Regions from separate parts of the Homo sapiens genome. Here region 2 is linked to region 1. Evidence: promoter capture Hi-C in 16 types of primary human blood cells and fetal thymus (Javierre and others, 2016). All regions are on one chromosome and are shown on one strand. Each heading gives the region's core, a stretch centred on a gene start or on the middle of the fragment in contact. The rest is flanking DNA. Distances are from core to core; before and after follow the strand shown. Region 1 holds the start of MYO1F (myosin IF). Region 2 overlaps NFILZ (NFIL3 like basic leucine zipper).

Region 1 (6,756 bases), core at 1,116-3,615:
TCTTTTTTTTTTTTTTTTGAGACGGAGTCTGGCTCTGTCGCCGAGGCTGTAGTGCAATGGTGTGATCTTGGCTCACTGCAACCTCCGCCTCCCGGGTTCAAGCGATTCTCCTGCCTCAGCCTCCCGAGTAGCTAGGATGACAGGCATGTGCCACCACACCCAGCTCATTTTTGTATTTTTAGGAGAGACGGGGTCTCACCACGTTGGCCAGGATCGTTTCTATCTCTTGACTTCGTGATCTGCCCGCCTCGGCCTCCCAAAGTGCTAGGATTACAGGTGTGAGCCACCGCACCCGGCCGGGCATTAGATTGTCATAAGCAGCATGCAACCTGGATCCCTCGTGTGTGCAGTTCACAACAGGGTTTGCGATCCTGTGATAATCTAATGGCGCCCCCGAGAATCTGAGAGGAGGTGGAGCTCGGGCTTGCTTGCCTGCCACTCATCTCCTGCTCTGTGACCCGATAGGGCTCATGGTTTCTAACAGACAGACCATGGCCCGATAGCAGTCCATGACCCCGGGGGTTGGGGACCCTGTTGTAAAGGACTTCAGAAATACTGTTTCATTGAATCCTTCAGCGATCTTCCTGGCATTCACCACTCCTCCAGGAAGATTTCAGCATCCCCAGACAGAGGTGGGTGTCATTTTTTTCTCTTCTATCATCCTCTGCGATACGGGTGGCCCCTCCCAGACCTTGTCTGCCAAGCCGACTGTTGACTAAGCATTTTCAGAGGGCTTCCTTGGGGAGGGGTTGCCTTTCTTTCAAGTAGCAAATCACTTCCTGTGTTCTTTTGATCAAAGCCCTGCCCATCCCAGGACCTGAGCCTCCCTGGCTTGCTTCTCATCTTGGAAGAATTCCCACCCCAACAGTCTCAGAGCTCCAGCTGATGGTTTGGGTGTGAATTCCGGGATGCCCAATTTCTCATCAGCTTTCCTTTTTTGAGACGGAGTGTGCTCTGTCACCCAGGCTGGAGTGCAGCGGCAGGATCTCAGCTCACTGCACCCTCCGCCTCCTGGGTTCAAGTTATTCTCTTGCCTCAGCCTCATATGTAGCTGGGATTACAGGCGTGTGCCACCACGCCCAGTTAATTTTTTGTATTTTTTAGTAGAGACGAGGTTTCACCACGTTGGCCAGGCTGGTCTCGAACACCTGACCTCAAGTGATCTACCTGTCTCAGCCTCCTAAAATGCTGGGATTACAGGCATGAGCCACTGTCCCTGGCCCTCACTGGCTTCCTGAAAGAAGGTGTTGTCTCTCAGACTAACACCACCTCTGCCTCTTGCCCTATGTCCCTGACTCCACCCTAGTAAGCTGTACCTGCCAAGAATCCTGCAGTGGCCGCTGTCACAGCCACATGCTCTCATCCTCACTGACTGAATGACGAGAAATGAAAGCTGAAGTGGTCTACACAGCAGAGAGCTGTGGGGTGGGGTCAGCCCTGGCCACCTCTTACTTTGCGTCTTATGGTGGTACGATACTGCTAGGAATAGCGCCATGATCACGACAGTCTCCCCGTTGCTATCATCGACAGACCTCAGACTTGACAGGCAGCAACACCTCTGGCTGCCATCCTCCTCTTGGGATAAGGGATGCCCACCAAAGGGTGGCATGGACGTATTCAGCCTCTCCTGCCTCTGCTGCAGCCATACCGCCCGTCACCGGCACAGGGAGGGCGTCAATCCACCCCATCGCTTGTTAGACATAGCTTCCCATCTCAGCCGAGGACTCTGTGGCAGAACCCACAGACCTTGAGAATGTTGCAACTGAAAGACCCCTGAAGAGCAACTTCCGCATCTAGACGGATTTCCAAATATGACATCTGTGGGAACCGGGGCCAAGAGAGGGGAAGTGACTAGCCCAAGGCTACACAGGGAGACGAGAGACTGGGCTGGACTGGGAAAGGGCTCCCTTAATTTGCAAGCAAAGGAGGCTATGTCCTTGTCCCTGCAGACTCTGTGATTCTCCCTGGGCCACCTTCTGTCTTCCAGGTCCTGCCCTATCCTTGGATCCAGGGATACCACCCTGGCATCCCCACCACCTACAGATGGGAGCTTGCTCCCTGGTAAGGGATGCTGGAGGCACCTGAGCTGCACTGAGAGACACCCCACCCCCACAGAAGTCCACCATGCCCCTCCCCTCACCCCAATTTCTGATGGTCATTTTTAGGACACCTCCACCTGGCTGGTGTCCCTCCTCTTTCTTCTTCCAGATCCCACCCTTGAAGGACTTACCATGGTGGGGGGCTGGTGTCTGGGCTCCTGGAGGCTCCTGAATGGGTCGTGATGGAGGTGCAGGTTCAGGGGGATCTTGGGGGTGGCTTGGGCATGGCCCTGCTTCTGCCCGTTCACCGGACTCCCGGCTTTAGTTCCTCTTACAACAGCCCCTTCTCACTTCCTTTGGCGGGAGGGGCCGAGGCCATGGGGGAGGGAAGCTGGGTGTGGAGGGGGGCGGGGAGCTGGCTGTTTGGGGCTCTGAGCCTGAAGGGAGGGGTCAGAACTTGATGGCAGCCACTACTGGACCTCAGAGGCCTCTTCCCCAACTCCTTGGGGACAGGGCTGCTGCAGGAACATTTGGGTCAGCTGGCTGCAGGACGAACCACCTCTTTTCAGGGCGATTCAGGAAGCATTTGGGCTTCCCGGGTCTCTTTTTAAAACCAAGGAAGGGGCCCAGGGGAGGTGGCTCACGCCTGTAATCCCAATACTTTGGGGGGCCAAGGTTGGAGGATCGCTTGAGTCCAGGAGTTTGAGACCAGCCTGGGCTATATAGCATGACCCCATCTCTACAAAAAATGAAAAGAAAAAAAATTAGCTGGGCATGGTGGCATGAGCCTGCAGTCCCAGCTACTCAGAGGGCTGAGGTGGGAGGATTGCTTGAACCTGGGAGGTGGAGGCCTCAGTGAGCCCTGATTGCGCCACTGCACTCCAGCCTGGGCGAAAGAGTGAGACCCTGTCTCTAAAAACAAACCAGAAAAAACAAAAAAACCAAAAAAACAACAACAACAGGGAAGGGTGCCTTCTTCAGCTGTGTCTGCTCTGGGCATCCCTGGGCAACCTCCTTCATTATTATTATTGTTATTATTTTGAGACGGAGTCTAGCTCTGTCACCCAGGCTAGAATGCAGTGGTGCAATCTCAGCTTACTTTAATCTCCGCCTCCTGGGTTCAAGCGATTCTCCTGCCTCAGCCTCCTGAGTAGCTGGGATTACAGGTGCCCACCGCCACACCTGGCTAATATTTGTATTTTTAGTAGAGACGGAATTTCGCCATGTTGGCCAGGCCGGCCTTGAACTCCTGACCTCAGGTGATCCTCCCAACTCGGCCTCCCAAAGTGCTGGGATTACAGGCATAAGCCACCACGCCTGGCCCAACCTCCCTCTTTAGATGACCCTCAGAAGTCACACGTGTTTGTGTGCAGAAGTGGAGGGTACTGGGAAGCAGGTGCATCTGAAAGGTCCCTGACTTTGGATGTCACATCTAGATTTAACAGCCTCCAGTTTGGCTACTTCCTGGATGACTTAGTTACTCCCTTTTCTCATTGTAAAATGGGAACGTGGGTCCCCCCAGCAGAGCCTGGCCCAGGTACGTGTCAGCCTATGAGCTGGTCTTTGGGACACCAGCCAACCACCTGAGGCTCCTCTTGACATGTGAGGAAATGGCAGTTCTAATAGGTTGTTACTTCCCCACACCACCCAGCAAGGAGGTGGCCGAGGCAGGACCCGACCCTGGGAGACCCTGGGGGACCCATGTTCAGATCTATCTTTGGTCCAGGGCGATAAACCCGCATCCCCCTTGAAGATGTTAATATGCAGCGCCCCTAGTGGCCACAGCTGGGAAGGAGCCCGTCTCTGCTGGAATCTCCTGAGCGAGTTTGCAGAATTGACGGGCTTGGGGCATGCAATTCTCAGCAATGTCTCCAGGCACTCAAGAGTGAATATGAATGGGTAAGAGGACCCCACTTTGTTGGGGGCCATCAGGGGAGGCTTCTAGGAAGAGGCAACGTTTGTGCTGACACCGGCGAGTAAGCTGGAGTTAAAAAAGGTAAAGGGGCAGGAGCGTGCACCTGGCCATGCTAAGCGCTCAAGCAAAGGCCCAGATATGGGAAAACCATAGGGCAATTGAGGAAGTTCGGGGAGGCTGGTGTGGCTGGAGCATGCGGAGTGACGGAGAGTGTGATGGCCAGGGTGGCAGGTGCTAGACCGTGTGGCTTTAAGAGCCTCTGTGAGGGCCAGGCATGGTGGCTGATGCCTGTAATCCCAGAACTTTGGGAGGCTGAGGTGGGAGGATCGCTTGAGCCCAGGAGTTCCAGACCAGCTTGGGCAACATAGCAAGACCTCGTCTCTACAAAAAATTAAAAAATCAGCTAGGTGTGCTGTTGCACCTATAATCTCAGTTACTTGGCAGGGTAGGCAGGAGAATCGTTTAAGCCCAGGAGTTCAAGGCTGCAGTGAGCTGAGATCGTGCCACTGAACTCCAGCCTGGGCTACAGAGTGAGACCCTGTCTCAAAAAACAAAAACAAAAAAGCAAAACCCTTCCACGAGAAGCTGTTGTACTTTTCTCCTAAAATCCCTGGGTTCCTGTCTGCAATGTTAAAAGTCCCCTTCTGGCTGGGCACGGTGGCCCATGCCTGTAATCCCAGCACTCTGGGAGGCCGAGGCGGGCAGATCACGAGGTCAGGAGATCGAGACCATCCTGGCTAACACGGTGAAACCCCGTCTCTACTAAAAAAGTACAAAAAATTAGCTGGGCATGTTGGCGGGCGCCTGTAGTGCCAGCTACTCGGGAGGCTGAGGCGAGAATGGCATGAACCCAGGAGGCGGAGCTTGCAGTGAGCCGAGATCGTGCCACTGCACTCCAGCCTGGGCAACAGTGCAAGACTCCGTCTCAAAAAAAAAAAAAAATAAAAAAAAAAAATAAATAAATCAGCTGGGTGTGGTCGTGCACGCCTGTAGTCCCAGCTATTCAGAAGGTGGAAGTGGGAGGATCACTTGAGTCCAGGAGATCAAGGCTGCAGTGAGCTATGATAGGCATAGCTGGGCGACAGGGACCGTCTCAGGAAAAAAAAAAAAGAAGTCCCCTTTTGGCTGTTGGGTAGACCTGGGAGAATGGGTGGTCCTTTCCAGACCTGGGTGGGGGCTACTGGATGCACTGACACACACACACCGCAATTCGTAGAAATCTACACAAGACAGAACTTTATTGATGTAGGGCTTCCTGGCAGGAGTGTGTGGGCCCCAGGGCAGGGTCTGTAGCACCATGAGGGGGTGGCCTGGATGTCGGGGTGCCCCTGGGGCGGGCAGGGCAGAGGTTGGGGTGGATCCTCCCCCTAGTCAGGTCAGGGGAGGGTGTCAGGGAGGTGGTGCTACCCCCCCCCCTCCCATAGCAGACACAGATTCCCCCCCAGCTCGGAGTGGAGGGGTAGGGCAGTGCTGGGGGGCAGGGCACCGGCAGACCACCTCCCCACCCCTACTCTTCACAGTACATATTCCGATCAAAGGAGGGGGGGAGTGTTGGGGACTCCCTAAGGGTGGGTTCAAAGGGTGCTGGGGTGAACAGCTGTCCCCTCCCCAGACCCACCCTGGAGGGGGGGTCTCACTATGTGAACTGGAAGGGGCGGATGCTGAAGAGGGGCTCTGGGGGGATAGCCAGCCCCTCTCCATCCCCCCAGCCAGGGCCCTGCAGGGGTTCCCAATAAATAACTTCCGGCTCCGTCTCACCCTTCCCTCCCAGTTCCCGCCCCCCCGGGGCCCCCTCTGGCCGGCCCGCTGCAGGGCTGGCGGCGGAGACCCCGCCAGCTGTGGCTCCGGGTGCCGCGCGCCCCCTAGTGGCCATGGCAGGTTTTGCAGCACATCTGGCGGAAGTAGGCTCGGCTGCAGAACTGAAATTTGAGCACCAGGGGGCAGTAGGCGACCTTGTTCACATCCTTGCACTCTGCGGGGACGGGAGAAGGAAGGAAAAATCAGGTCTCAGCTGCCCTCCCCGCAGGGCTGCACACACGACCTGCAGTGCTTCCTGGCCAGTGACTTTCTGTGCCTTGGTTTCTTTCTTTTTAAATTTACTTTTTTTTTTTTTTTTTTTTTTTTTTTTTACAGATGTTATCTTGCTATGTTGACCAGGCTGGTCTCCACCTCTTGAGCTCAAGTGATCCTCTCACCTCAGCCTCCTAAGTAGTTGGGACTACAGGTGTGAGCAAACCACGCCTGACTTCTGTGCCTTAGTTTCCTCAACTATCAAAGGGGGCTTATAATAGCACCGATGTCACTAGGCTGTTTTGAGGATTTAAGAGAGAGAGTGTAGGGTTGGGGGCCAACACAGACACATTAGTAATGAGAAAAGGGCCGGGTACAGTGTATCATGCCTGTAATCCCAGCACTTTGGGAGACCAAGGCAGGAGGACTGCTTGAGCCCAGGAGTTTGAGACCAGCCTGGGCAACATAGTGAGAGCACTGCATCTACAAAAACTAATTAAAAGAAAAAAATAGGCTGGGCATGGTGGCTCATGCCTGTAATCTCAGCACTTTGGGAGGCCGAGGCAGGTGGATCACTTCAGGTCGGGAGTTTGAAACCAGCCTGGCCAACGTGATCAAACCCCATCTCTACTAAAAATATAAAAATTAGCTGGGCGTGGTGGCGGGTGCCTGTAATCCCAGCTACTCGACAGCCTGAGGCAGGAGAATTGCCTGAACCCGGGAGGCAGAGGTTTCAGTGAGCCGCGATTGCACCACTGTACTCCAGCCTGGGAGACAGAGCGAGACTCTGTC
Region 2 (7,420 bases), core at 1,568-4,067, 59 kb after region 1:
CTTCCTGCCCCCTCTGAAGACCAACTTAGCTATGCCCAACTCAGCTCTTGTCCTGGGACAAGGCCCCCTGCCTCCTGGTCAAGGGAGCAGGGTCCTGGGGAGGGAGAGACAGATGTCGAGGCTGGACAGGAGGTTGTGGAAGGGGAGGAAGTGGATTTGGGAGTATAGCTTTCTTTCTTACTCAGTTATCATTAGTATAACTTTTCTCCCTTCCTTCCTTCCTTCCTTCCTTCCTTCCTTCCTTCCTTCCTTCCTTCCTTCCTTCCTTCCTTCCTTCCCTCCCTTCTTTCCTTCTCTCTCTCTCTTTTTTGCTTTCTTGCTTGCTTTCTTGTTTCCTTTTTTTTTTGAGATAGAGTCTTGCTCTGTCACCCAGGCTGCAGTACGGTGGCGCCATCTCGGCTCATTGCAACCTCCACCTGCCAGGTTCAAGCGATTCTCCTGCCTCAGCCTCCCAAGTAGCTGGGACTACAGGTGTGTGCTATCATGCCCAGCTGATTTTTGTATCTTTGGTAGAGAAGGGGTTTCACCATGTTGGCCAGGCTGGTCTTGAACCCCTGGCTTCAAGTGATCCACCCCCTTGGTCTCCCAAAGTGTTGGGATTACAGGCGTGAGCCACCCTGCCTGGCCTCTTTTTTTTTTCTTTTTGAGACAGGGTTTCACTCTGTTGCCCAGGCTGGATTGCAGTGGTGCAATCCAGCCTTGAATGTCTGGGCTCAAATGATTCTCCCACATCAGCCTCCTGAGTAGCTGGAACTATCGGCGCATGCCGTGACACCCAGCTAATTTTTATTTTTTGTAGAGATGGGATCTCTCTCAAATTCCTGGCCTCAAGTAATCCTCTTGCCTCAGCCTACCAAAATGCTGGGCCTTATTATTGTAATGTTTTTTCCTTTCATTTAAGTAAAAATTAAAGTGTAATTTACTGGCCAGGTGTGGTGGCACAGGCCTATAGTCCCAGCACTTTGGGAGGCTGAGGCGGGCGGATCGCTTGAGCTCAGGCATTGGAGATCAGTCTGGGCAACACAGTGAGACCTTGTCTCTACAAAAAACAAAACAGAAAATTAGCTGGGCATAGTGGTGTGCATTCGTAGTTCCAGCTAATTGGGAGGCTAAGGTGGGAGGATCACTTGAATCCGGGAAGTCGAGGCTGCATCAAGCCAAGATGGCCCCACTGCACTTTAGCCAAGACCCTATCACAAACAAACAAACAAACAAACAAACAAACAAACAAACAAAAAAACAAAAAAACCAGTGTAATTTACTGACAGTGAAACCCATACATATTAGTATACGATTCTGTGATATTTGACAAACCACACAACCCTATAACCACAACCTCAATAGAAATACAGAATACCGGCCAGGCCTGGTGGCTCACACTTGTAATCCTAGCACTTTGGGAGGCTGAGGCGGGTGGATCACTTGAGGTCAGGAGTTCAAGACCAGCCTGGCCAACATAGTGACTCTCTGTCTCTACTAAAAATACAAAAATTAGCCGGGCATGGTGGTGGGCACCTGTAATCCCAGCTACTCAGGAGGCTGAGGCAGGAGAATCGCTTGAACCTGGGAGGCGGAGGTTGCAGTGAGCCGAGATCATACCACTGCACCTCAGCCTGGGCAACAGAGCAAGACTCCATCTCAAAAAAAAAAAAATTAAAAAAAAAAAAAAAGAAATACAGAATACCTTTTTCCCTCCCAATTCCTGCAATTCCTGCGTGCCCCTCTGGAGTCAATTTCTCTCCCTCAGTCCCAGCCCCTGGCCCCTGCTGACTTCCTCTCTGTTGCTATATTTCTGCCTTTTCCCAGGATATTATGTCAATGGAATCGTACCATAGGCAGCTTTTGGCGCATACTTCTTCCAGGCAGCAGAATGCATTTGAGGCTTATTCACGTTGTTGGGTGTAGCATTTTTTGTTTCTTTTACTGTTGAGGAGTCCCTGGTATGGATGTGTCACCATGCATCCATTCATTTGTTGACAGACACGTGAGTTGTTTCCAGTTTTGGTGACGAATGCCCAAATTCATAGGCGATGATAAATAATGTGCCAGACGTTGATGTGCAAGTTTTGGTGTGAGGGTAAGTTTCCATTTCTCTACGGTGAATACCTATGAGTCCTTATTCTCTCTCTCTGTCTCTGACTTTCTCTTTCTCTCTTTATTTATTTGTTTATTTATTTTTATTTATTAGACAGGGTCTTGCTCTGTCACCCAAACTGGAGTGCAATGGTGCAGTCTTGGCTCATTGCCACCTCTGCCTCCTGGGCTCAAGCTATTTTCCTGTCTCAGCCTCCAGAGTAGCTGGAATTACAGGTGCGCACCACCACACCCAGCTGATTTTTGTATTTTTAGTAGAGAGGGGGTTTCACCGTATTGCCCAGGCTGGTGTTGAACTCCTGGCCTCAAGTGTTCTACCCGGCTCATCCTCCCAAAGTACTGGTATTACAGGCATGAGCCACCACACCCAGCCAAAACCAGCCTTTTAAAAAAATTTTATTTTCGGCTGGGCGCGGTGGCTCATGCCTGTAATCTCAGCACTTTGGGAGGCCGAGGCGGGTGAATCACGGGGTCAGGAGTTCGAGACCAGCCTGACCAACATGGTGAAACCCCGTCTCTACTAAAAATACAAAAATTAACTGGGCATGGTGGCACACGCCTGTAGTCCCAGCTACTTGGGAGGCTGAGGCAGGAGAAATGCTTGAACCTGGGAGGCGGAGGTTGCAGTGAGCCGAGATTGCGCCATTGCACTCCAGCCTGGGCAACACAGCGAGACTCCATCTTTTTTTTTTTTTTTTTGAAACAGAGTCTTGCTCTGTCGCCCAGGCTGGAGTTCAATGGCGCCATCTCGGCTCACCGCAACCTCTGCCTCCTGGGTTCAAGCAATTCTCCTCCCTTAGCCTCCTGAGTAGCTAGGATTACAGGCATGCACCATCATGCCCAGCTATGTTTTTTTTTTTAATTTTTATTTTTAGTAGAGACGGGGTTTCACCATGTTGGTGAGGCTGGCCTTGAACTCCCGACCTCAGGTGATCAGCTTGCCTTGGCCTCCCAAAGTGCTGGGATTACAGGCGTGAGCCACCATGCTTGGCTAATTTTTGTATTTTTAATAGAGGTGAGGTTTCACCCTTTTGCCCAGGCTGGCCTCGAACTCCTGACCACAAGTGATCCGCCCACCTTGGCCTCCCAAAGTTTTGGGATTACAGGCATTAGCCATTGCGCCTGGCCTATATGGAGGCTTTTGTATGGAGAGACAGGACACTGGTCCCCTGGATACTGGAGGGGGACAGTCAGGGATAGAGCTGGGGCCAAGGGGAAGATATAGAAGTGCGAATCAGGTGAGGTATAGGACAGGGTGCCTGGAGGGGAGGCCAGAATCTTCATTCTAACCAAATCCTTGCCTAGTTTTTAAAAAAATGGGCAAGGCTGAATGTGGTGGCTCATACCTGTAGTCCCAGTACTTTAAGAGGCCAAGGCAGAAGGATCACTTGAGCCCAGGAGTTCGAGGCTGCAGTGAGCTAGGACTGTGCACTCCAGCCGGGTGTGATGACGCACACATATAATCTCAGCTCTCAGAAGGCTGAAGCAGGAGAGTCACTTGAATCCAGGAGGCAGAGATTGTAGTGAGCTGAGATCACACCACTGCACTCCAGCCTGGGCAATAGAAAAAAAACCAAAACCAAACCAAAACAAAACCTTAAACACAAAGTTACCATAGAACTCAGCAACTCCTGAGGTCAGGAGTTCGAGACCAGCCTGACCAACATGGTGAAGCCCCTTCTCTACTAAAAATACAAAAATTAGCAGGGAATGGCGGTGCATACTTGTAGTCCCAGCTACTTGGGAGGCTGAGGCAGGAGAATAGCTTGAACTGGGGAGGTGGAGGTTGCAGTGACCCGAGATTGCACCACTGCTCTCCAGCCTAGGCGACAGAGTGAGACTCCATCTCAAAAAAAAAAAAGGCCGAGTGCAGTGGCTCACGCCTGTAATTCCAGCACTTTGGGAGGCTGAGGCATGTGGATCACCTGAGGTCAGGAGTTTGAGACCAGCCTGACCAACATAGTGAAACTCCATCTCTACTAAAATACAAAAAATTAGCCAGGCATGGTGGCAGATGCCTGTAATCTCAGCTACTTGGGAGGCTGAGGCAGGAGAATCACCTGAACCAGGGAGGCGGAGATTGCAGTGAGCTGAGATTGCGCCACTGTACTACAGCCTGGGCGACAAGAGCAAGACTAAAGATGGTCTCAAAAAAAAAAAAAAAAAAAAAAGAAAAGAACAGAAAAAGAAAAACAAAAAGCCTCCACATAGTCCCCTTGCTCTTGTAGAACAGAGAAGGACTTCATAGACCTTTCCCCAACACAGGTTAGTGCCAGCATGACCTTGCCAGGCCACCTTAATAGAGCAAAGATCAGTAGATGCTATGGGAAGTCAAATTTTCTCAACATTAGAAACTCTTTCCAACACACAGAAAAATGGAAAGAATTGGGCACAGGCACACTCACCCCTAGATTCTACAACGAACTCATTGCCATTCCGCGGTAAACGCTAAGCCAGGCGTCACACGCTATGCTGTGTGATGCTAGAAGTGCGCACACTTATCCTGTTGGTGGTGGAATTTACACGTGCGTTCATGAGTGTGCACGTGCGTTAGCCGCTGTGTGCATTTGTGGGCGTGCAAAGGGATGTGCCTGGGGGAAAACCTCACACAGTGGTTAGGAAGCCTGTGCAGTTGAACTGTGGGGGCTCCCGTCTTGCTTCTGCCACTTAAGGACTGTGGGGCCTTGGGCGAATTGCCCAACTTCTCTCCTGCCCGTTTCCTCTTTCAGTGTGGATTCATTCATTCAACAAATATTTACGGAACGAACACCTCCTGCGTGCCAGGCTCCATTCCAAGCACTGGGGGTTGCAGCGGCGAACAAAACAGACCCAAATGCCTGCCCTGGTGGGCCAGGAAGGCAGAAATAAAGATGAAGAGTTGGTCAAGTCTGCAGTATGTCACAGGGTGGTAGGGCTGCGTTTGTGTACATGGGGAAGAGGCTGCAGCTTTAGAGGTGGGGGGACCTCCCGGGGAAGGTGAGGAGAGTGAGGTGCTTCTAGGGGGATGGAGGGGAGGGGAGAGTCTTTCTGGCAGAGGGCAAAGCAAGTGCAAAGGCCCTGAAGCAGGAATTTACTTTGCTGTTTTTTTTTTTTTTTTTGAGATGGAATCTCGCTCTGTTGCCCAGACTGGAGTGCAGTGGCACAATCTTGGATCACCGCAACCTCTGCCTCCCGGGTTCAAGGGATCCTCCTGCCTCAGCCTCCGAGTAGCTGGGATTACAGGCGCACACCACCATGCCCAGCTAATTTTTTGTATTTGTAATAGAGACAGGCTTTCACCACATTGGCCAGGCTGGTCTCAAACTCCTGGCCTCAAGTGATCTGCCCGACTCGGCCTCCCAAAGTGGTGGGATTGCAGGTGTCAGCCACTGAGCCCGGCCTACTTGGCTGTTTAAGGAACAGTGAGGAGGTCCATGTGGTTGGAGCAGAGTGATAGAAGGGGTGAGAGGAAGGAGGGCAAAGGCAGAGAGGTGACAGTGGGTGTTGTGGGGAAGGAGAGCTTGCAAGATCTCAAGAGTTACAGGCATGGCAGGCCAGGCATGGCGGCTCACACCTGTAACCCCAGCACTTTGGGAGGCTGAGGCAGGAGGATCATTTGAGCCTGGAAGTTTGCGACCAGCCTGGGCAACATAGCAAGACCCCTGCCTCTACAAAAACAAAACAAAACAAAACAAAACGCAACAATTAGCCAAGTATGGTGGCATGTGCCTGTAGTCCCAGCTACTCAGGAGGCAGGAAGATCGCTTGAGCCCAGGAGTTTGAGGCTGTAGTGAGCTATGATCGCACCACAGCAATACAGCCTGGGTCACAGAGCCAGACCATCTCTTAAGAAAATTAAAAAAAAAAAAAAAAGATTTGCAGAAAGTACTCAAGCTTTTACCCTGGGATGTGTTGAGGGTGTCCTCTCTGGCTGCTGGGTGGATGATAATAGCACCTACCTGAAGGAGTTGTTGGAAGGACGACATGAATTAATATGTGTAAAGTGATAGGCCAGTGTCTGGCATATACCACACATGGGGTAAGGATTAGTTTATTTTTATATGCGGTAGGCGTGTGTGTGTTGGGTGTCTCTGGGCGGCAGCTGAGCCAGGTGGCCATTAGTGAGTTTGTTGTTGTGAAAGAATCTCTCTAACACTATTTAAAAAACCCTGCTGGGTGTTTAAAAGCCCTACTGGGGTTGCCATGTTTTGGCTGGGTCCCGGCTCTTTTGTATAACAGATGTTACCCAGATGTCAGCTGGGGTCAATAGAGCCTCAGAGATTTGGCGTCTGCCTCTCTCCCACGACCTGTGGGAAGCCTGGTGCCCTCTGTGAGATGCTTGTGAATTCCCAGGGCCTCTGTTCTCATGGTTGCGTCTTGGCCTGAGTTCCTGCCCGCTGAACTCTTGCCCTCACCCACCTTCCTGGGGCCAGTGCTTTGCGGGTGAACCGGTCCTGTGTTCTTGATTTTCCCCCAGATCACTCTTGCACATGGACTGCCTGCAGGTTGCCTCTCAAGATACTGTGCTCTCCCAGTCTGGCCAATGTAGCAAGAACCTATTGTTCCTGCTGTAGTTTTTTTTTTTTTTTTTTTTACCATTGCTTGAGCTTCTGCATAAGATGTTGCTTGACAAAGCATTCCACCACCAACAGGAAAAGTTTACACACTTGTTGCATAACACAGCATAGAGCGTGATGACCGGCTTGGAGTTTACCAGGCTGTCCTGTGAAGGGGAAGTTCACTTAGGACACCCGGGGCCAATGGCTGTGAGCAGCAGAAGGTGCCTTTGATGTCAAGCTGTCTTGAACGCTGCTGCTCCCGGGTGGGTAAGAGCTGGCACAGTCCAGAAAAATTGAGGCGGCGACACGATGAGAGACAGCAACCCATCCCCAGACAAACCTCAAGAGACCAGAAGCAGCCACATTGCACCAGACTTCTGGAAAATTAGGCAAGCGTTGGCAACAGAATATGTTGTGGACTCTTCTCACAGTTTCTGTAATCATTAACTGCTTTCTCAGGGTGTGGATATTCAAGGACCAGAGGTCAAAGTTACAGCAACAGCACCTTGCAAGGGGCAGGGGTGAGGAGAACCTCCTTGGGCAGGTCGTGCTGTATGGGATAAGCCCAGAACTGGTTTAGTTCTGAGACGAGGGTGCAGATAGTATTGGAAAGATGCATATCACTCAAGCCTGGAAGAAGACCAGGGTTACACTTAACCTTGACTGCAGTTCAATGCCTCGGTAATATGGACTGAATTGTAACTAAGACTGTTCTCTGCAAGGTTTGCTTGGTTTCTGCATCTTTGTAATTGTAGCATTTGGTGTTCACTTGAAGGATGGGTCTTCAA

Evidence for each region. The method cuts DNA at HindIII sites, captures the fragments that hold promoters and counts their contacts. A CHiCAGO score of 5 or more calls a contact.
Region 2: a fragment that was not itself captured here is called in contact with the fragment with the promoter of MYO1F in region 1 in 3 of 17 cell types (non-activated CD4 T cells, neutrophils and monocytes); the score reaches 6.2 in non-activated CD4 T cells.

The regions. Positions count from the first base shown.
Region 1 is chr19:8,575,077-8,581,832 of GRCh38, forward strand. It overlaps MYO1F (myosin IF), which reads right to left and starts at 2,366. Exons shown (of 28, transcript NM_012335.4): 1 at 2,231-2,366. The coding sequence starts at 2,233. It overlaps ADAMTS10 (ADAM metallopeptidase with thrombospondin type 1 motif 10), which reads right to left. Exons shown (of 26, transcript NM_030957.4): 26 at 5,164-5,926. The coding sequence ends at 5,817. RefSeq lists enhancers at 811-870, 1,211-1,270, 1,441-1,620 and silencers at 1,741-1,790, 2,328-2,477, 3,698-3,892, 5,704-5,753. The HindIII fragment of the contact is 24,150 bases long and covers 1-6,756 here.
Region 2 is chr19:8,633,670-8,641,089 of GRCh38, forward strand. It overlaps NFILZ (NFIL3 like basic leucine zipper), which reads left to right. Exons shown (of 6, transcript NM_001378600.1): 3 at 1,981-2,077. Among named protein-coding and RNA genes, the nearest start is that of NFILZ, 6.7 kb to the left of the region's middle. The HindIII fragment of the contact is 6,295 bases long and covers 1-5,965 here.